Linked DNA regions of Homo sapiens: region 1 is linked to region 2. Evidence: promoter capture Hi-C in 16 types of primary human blood cells and fetal thymus (Javierre and others, 2016). All regions are on one chromosome and are shown on one strand. Each heading gives the region's core, a stretch centred on a gene start or on the middle of the fragment in contact. The rest is flanking DNA. Distances are from core to core; before and after follow the strand shown. Region 1 overlaps SLC51A (solute carrier family 51 member A). Region 2 holds the start of TFRC (transferrin receptor).

Region 1 (3,248 bases), core at 352-2,851, 140 kb before region 2:
ACACCACCTGCTCAGAAGGGGCAGGAGCAGGTGAGGGCGGGAGGGAGACCCTGAGGCTCCGGAAGCCTTTTGCGGCAAGGACACAGGAGGCAAAACCTACACATTCGAGGCAGCGTTCCTTAAACGTTGCCAGCTGGAAAAAGCACTAATTAAGTCAAGCAAACCAAGGACCTGTGGGAGGGTGTTTCAAAAGCCTCAGCGTAAGGGTGGAGCTGAGTGTGACCCTGTGGAATGAGACTTTCCCCCACACTCTGAGGAACCACTGAAGGAAGCTCTTCAAGTGGCAACACTGTAGCGGGGAGCAAGGATGAGGCGGCTGGTGGGCTGAGCAGATCTCCAGCTGTCTCCGCAGCCCTTAGAATGCAAACACTGCACAGCCTTCCAAGCAGAGGATCCTAACTGCAAGGGGAGGTCGGCCTGCAAACCTCGGCCCTCCGCGGGTCGTGGCAGGACACTCTTTGCCGAAGTGACGTGCTGAGTTTAGAGGAATTCTCACCTTGGTCTCTGCCTTCTTTTCAGTTCCCCCCACAGGGCAGCCCCGGGGGCCTCACCGTGGGTGCCGAGCTCTTCCAGAGCAGAGTCCGCCTCTTGATGGGGCAAAGGGTGTTCTTGTACAGGTAGACGGCATCCTCCAGGAAGATGGCAATGGAGCCCAGCGCCAGCAAGGTCAGGATGCTAGTGAGGGCAAGTTCCACAGGGCCCAGGGCTAGAGGAGGAGAAGGCAGAGAGCTGACGACCGGGACTGAGCGGGAGAAGGCCTGGGCTTGTTCCTCGGATCGAAATTGCCTTACTGGATCTAGGCTCCCACCCGTGCACAGGAATGAGGATTTTTTAGACCTAGAGTATTCAACCTAAGAAATAGTCTTTTTTTTTTCTTTTTCTTTTTTTTTTTTTTTTAAGACGGAGCCTCACTCTGTTGCCCAGGCTGGAGTGCAGTGGTGTGAACTTGGGTCACTGCAACCTCCATCTCCTGGGTTTAAGTGATTCTCCTGCCTCAGCCTCCCAAGTAGCTGGGATTACAGACACCCACCACTATGCCCGGCTAATTTTTATATTTTTAGTAGAGATAGTTTTCTCCATGTTGGCCAGGATGGTCTCGAACTCCTCACCTCAAGTGATCCACTCGCCTTGGCCCTGCAAAGTGCTGGGATTATAGGCCTCAGCCCCCGTGCCCAACCCCACTTCACTTTTCTATCTCCAGTGCCAGGTGCTGCACTAGCGAATGTAGATCAATTAACATAATTGAAGCCGAATATAATTTATGGGACATTCTGGATCTGTTTAAGTTGATTTCACCAAAATTATATGGTGAAACCAGGACATTAGCAGAGAACTTTTTTGTGGGGAGGAGGACAGGTTCTCACTCTGTCGCCCAGGCTGGAGGGCAGTGGTGTGATCATGGCTCACTGCAACCTTGACCTTCCGGGTTCAAACCATCCTCCAACCTCAGCCTCCCAAGTAGCCTGGGACTACAGGTGTGCACCCCCACCACGGCCGGCTAATTTTTAACATTTTCTGTAGAGACGGGGTCTCACTACGTTGCCCAGACTGGTCTCAAACTCCTAGGCTTAAGCAGTCCTTCCACCCTGGTCTCCCAAAGTGCTGGGATTACAGACGTGAGCCACCACACTCGGCCAGGGGAGAACTTCAACAAAAGAGAAACGGATCAAATAAAAACCCCAAGGACACCTGACGCACGCTGGCCTCATGCTTGGTCTTACATGAACTATAGTCCAAGGTTTTCAAACTTTCGTGGATATTGCAGTCATTTTGGGAGTTGTTAAAAAGCAGCTAGCTGCCCAGGCCCTACGTTCAGACATGTGCGTCCATAGATCTGAGATGGGCCCAGTCATCTGCATTTTTAACAAGCTCACCTGATAGTGGTCGGAGGATAGCAGACACTTTGACAAATACTGGTAGACCTCATCTGGCCTCACCGTTGCTAACAGAAAAAAATGAATATAGTCACAATATGTGTTTCCGAACAAACGTGATTCATTAATGCAGCCGTTAGTTTTAAAGAAAGGGTTCTAGGTCCTTAGTGAACCTGTGGTCATTTATCTAAGTGTCTTTTCTAGTTATTGGACCCTCCTTTGCACCTGCTACCTGACTAGATAAGAGGAAGAAAGGGAGAAAACTGCCACACTCCAGTCATTGTCCTGTTGCCTTGCGGGGTGAGCACGAGGAAGGGATTAGCTAGTCTGCTCTGTGTTTTGGTGACTAAGGAACATGAGGGCAGCTCAGTGGGAGCAATATGACTGCTGAAACCAAAACAGGGAGAAAGGTGGCCACGGTACAGACTTGAGCTGGAGCTCTTGTCTCGGTCAGTCGCACCTGGTGGCACCACAGGACCAACCAGGACTATGGGTGAATTTGTCAAAAAATACGCTGACCCTCGGCTGGGCACGGTGGCTCACACTGGTAGTCCCAGCACTTTGGGAAGCTGAGGTGGGCGGATCACTTGAGGCCAGGAGTCCAAGACCAGCCTGGCCAACATAGTGAAACCCCACCTCTACTAAAAATACAGAAATTAGCCGGGTGTGGTGGCGCCTGCCTGTGGTCCCAGCTACTCCGGGAGAGGTGAAGGCTGTAGTGAGCCAGGATCACACCGCTGCACTCCAGCCTGGGTGAAAAAAAAAAAAAAAGGAAAATACCTATAATACTGAAAAAAGTTAGCAATGCTTATGTTTGGGTGATGGGACTATGGATGATTTGTGTCTTCTTTTCTACTTACTTTTTTCTATCTTTTCTGAGTAGTCACTTTTTTAAAAATTAAACAACTTAAATTTATTTTCTCATAGTTTTGGAGGCTAGTTCAAGATCAAGGTGTCAGCAGGTTTGATTTCTCCTGAGGCCTCTCTCCTCCACTTGCAGACAACTCTCCTCTCCTCCCCTCCCCTCCCCTCCCCTCTCCCATTCCCTCCCCTCTCCCCTCTCCTCCCCTCTCCTCCCCTCCCATCTCCTCCCCCCCCCGCCCCGCCCCCTTCTCTTCTTTCAACGAAGTTTCACTCTTGTCGCACAGGCTGGAGTGCACTGGTCTGATCTTAGCTTACTGCAGCCTCCACCTCCCAGGTTTAAGTGATTCTCCTGCCTCAGCCTCCCAAGTAGCTGGGATTACAGGCACCTGCCACCACGCCCAGCTAGTAGAGACGGTTTTCGCCATGTTGGCCAGGCTGGTCTTGAACTGACCTCAACTGACCCGCCCACCTCGGCCTCCCAAAGTGCTGGGATTACAGGCGTGAGCCACC
Region 2 (3,095 bases), core at 282-2,781:
CTCCAGCCAGGGTGACAGAGCAAGACACTGTCTTAAAAGTAAAAATAATAAAAATAAATAAAATTAATAATTAAAGAAATAAAGAAGGAACACCACAGGGGAGCAGGCCTGGTGTCTGAATGTTAAGGTAGGCCCTCTGTGGATGTGCATCCTTAACCTTTTCCTGATTAGATCATTAAAGGTGCAGCAATGCTCCTGCTCATATGACTTTTTTTTTTTTTTGAGATGGAATCTTGCTCTGTCGCCCAGGTTGGAGTGCAATGGCGCGATCTTGGCTCACTGCAACCTCCGCCTCTTGGGTTCAAGCGATTCTTCTGCCTCAGCCTCCTGAGTAGCTGGGATTACAGGCGCGTGCCACTATGCCTGGCTAATTTTTTTTGAAATTTTTTTAGTAGAGATGGGGTTTCACCATATTGGTCAGGCTGGTCTCGAACTCCAGACCTCGTGATCCGCTCACCTCGGCCTCCCAAAGTGTTAGGATTGCAGGCGTGAGCCACCGCGCCTGGCAACTCATATGACTTTTAAACACTTCTCTTTGGGGAGAGAGATTTTAGAGAATGGGAGTAAAGAGAAAGGCGGTGAGAATCCCAAGTACTTTCTCTATCTTAGAGCAGAAGAAATAAAGGGAAGAGTAAAAGCCCAAGGCCCAGAAACGGATTTGCTTCTTAAAGGGCTGTTCTGTGTCCCTACGGGCCTGAAGGTCAGTTTATGTGCAATGCTTTTTAAGGTATGGGTTGCTTTCTTGCATTGTAGCTACTACCTCCCTGGCCTGCTGGTTACTGACCAGAGGGAGGGAGAGGGTGTGATTGTTTGGAAAGAGTTTAAACAGTGACAAGAATTGAATTTTATTTATTTGTTATTCATTGCACAATCCAATAACAGCGATGGCAATGAAAACGAAAGTTAATCTACAATCCTATCACCCTATTAAGTCACTTGTTTCTATTTTCCCTTTTATTCCCTCATGCATTAAACATTACGCAAAGCACTCCGCTAGTCTTGGTTAAAGTGCAGCTTGTATACATTCTGAATAAAAATTTGCATTTTGCTTTTCTTTTCCTTTTTGTATTTCTGAGGCTGCAAAATACATCTTCACAAGAGTGGCTTTAATAGTTACCTAACATTCCATCCTGCACGTACATTTCAAGGCACTGCCGCAGTGCAATATCCAACATTTAAGCGTCAACGCCAACAGATTGGACCTAGCACTGCAGGGACTGGAGGTTGGTCAAGGTCAGGCGGAGGCTGCCAGGCTACCAGGGTGGAGGAAGGCGCCGAGGCAGAGGCCAGTGCGCCCATCGCGCGGCTCCTCGGGGCACCTGCTGCCTTGGCGCCTTTTCCCTTGGCCTTCGCCTCGCCCGCAGCGCCCTCCGCATAGGGCCCCGCCCGCTGCGCGCGCATCCCCGCCCCCCGGGCGATCTGTCAGAGCACCTCGCGAGCGTACGTGCCTCAGGAAGTGACGCACAGCCCCCCTGGGGGCCGGGGGCGGGGCCAGGCTATAAACCGCCGGTTAGGGGCCGCCATCCCCTCAGAGCGTCGGGATATCGGGTGGCGGCTCGGGACGGAGGACGCGCTAGTGTGAGTGCGGGCTTCTAGAACTACACCGACCCTCGTGTCCTCCCTTCATCCTGCGGGGCTGGCTGGAGCGGCCGCTCCGGTGCTGTCCAGCAGCCATAGGGAGCCGCACGGGGAGCGGGAAAGCGGTCGCGGCCCCAGGCGGGGCGGCCGGGATGGAGCGGGGCCGCGAGCCTGTGGGGAAGGGGCTGTGGCGGCGCCTCGAGCGGCTGCAGGTACACGGGGTCGGCGGCTGTGCGCAGAGGCGTCCCTGCGCCTCTCGTCCCTTCGCCTCTCGTCCCTTCCCTTCTCTCTGCCTTCTTGCCCGCCTCCTCGGTCACAGAGCGACGAATGACGAGACCAGGTGTACCCCCACTGTCGCTCTCAGCCCCGGGGACTTCGGGTCCTCGCCCTTGAAGGCCGCAGGCCCTAGTGCGCCGGCTCCGGGCTGCGGGTCCGGGAGCGCGGGCGCAGCCAAGGTGCAGCTGCGCGGCGTGCGGCGCCGGGGGAACACGTGGCTGCTCCAGGAAGTCGCCCCAGGGAACGGCTGGGATTCGTGGGTGACCTTGGGCTCCTAAACCTTCGGTTCCCCGGGCTCCGGGCGGGCCCCGTTCTCACTGCGGAAAGGGACAAAGCTGTCCCCGATTCGGTTACTAGCGTGTTACAGGCATTAATTAGATACGGGTTTCTGTAAACTTACCCTTCGGCTCTGGTACAACCTGATCTTGCCATGCTCTGCCTGTTCGCCTTGTGTGTGGATTCTGTTTTCTCAAGGCAGAATCCGACTGAACGCCGCAGGTGTTCACATTAAGAATATTGCTAGCAGTTCTCACTACAAGACGGGAGCCATAGGAGTGACTTATTTGTGAAAGATACTTGGAGATTAGCGGTGTGGTCAGAGGGCTGTGCTGGATTGATGGGCGCCGGAGAGGCCGATTGTGTCACATTCTGCTGGACAGTTCTTTTAAGGTTGGGAGGGTGGGTAAGAAAATACATTCTGATTCGGCTCTTTTCGGATAACGCTTTCCCTCTGCTTACTGCTTGTAGAGACCTCACTTACCCGGGGGACTGGATTCTGCAGCTTTTTCCATTTTCTTCCCCGTTGATAAGAGGATTAAAGTAGGAAATTGTATTTGGCTACCCCATGCTTATATGCTAAGCTTACTGTGAAAATTAAGGTTAGGCTGTCTAGAGTACTTGTGGACCCTGCTGGTTCCCCCCGCCCCCCGGCCCTGAATTTTGGGTTACAATATGCTTCTCAAGAAAACTCAGAGTTAAGATAATTTTTGTCATCGATTTTGCAAGGTTATATATAGCATAGCATCCTTCAATTTCCTTTGGATGTTCTTATCAAGTAATGGTGGCTGTAAACCTAGCCTGTGTTGAAGATTGTTAGATAGACAGCAGTTTGGCTAACTCCGCCCTAAGGCGAGGCAGTTACTTGCCTCTGATAATGTATTTAAATGTCATGGAGCAAGATTCCCAGCTAAACCTGAATCGATCACAATGCTAGTTAAAAATGACCCTCGGCTGGGCGCATT

Evidence for each region. The method cuts DNA at HindIII sites, captures the fragments that hold promoters and counts their contacts. A CHiCAGO score of 5 or more calls a contact.
Region 1: a contact is called between a fragment that was not itself captured here and the fragment with the promoter of TFRC in region 2, in 2 of 17 cell types (M1 macrophages and M2 macrophages). The highest score is 6.1, in M1 macrophages.

Annotation. Positions count from the first base shown.
Region 1 is chr3:196,224,423-196,227,670 of GRCh38, reverse strand. It overlaps SLC51A (solute carrier family 51 member A), which reads right to left. Exons shown (of 9, transcript NM_152672.6): 3 at 552-706; 4 at 1-7. Among named protein-coding and RNA genes, the nearest start is that of SLC51A, 9.5 kb to the right of the region's middle. The HindIII fragment of the contact is 5,487 bases long and covers 1-3,248 here.
Region 2 is chr3:196,080,526-196,083,620 of GRCh38, reverse strand. It overlaps TFRC (transferrin receptor), which reads left to right and starts at 1,531. Exons shown (of 19, transcript NM_001128148.3): 1 at 1,531-1,578. RefSeq lists silencers at 1,209-1,548, 1,599-1,898 and an enhancer at 2,780-3,095. The HindIII fragment of the contact is 5,608 bases long and covers 1-2,716 here.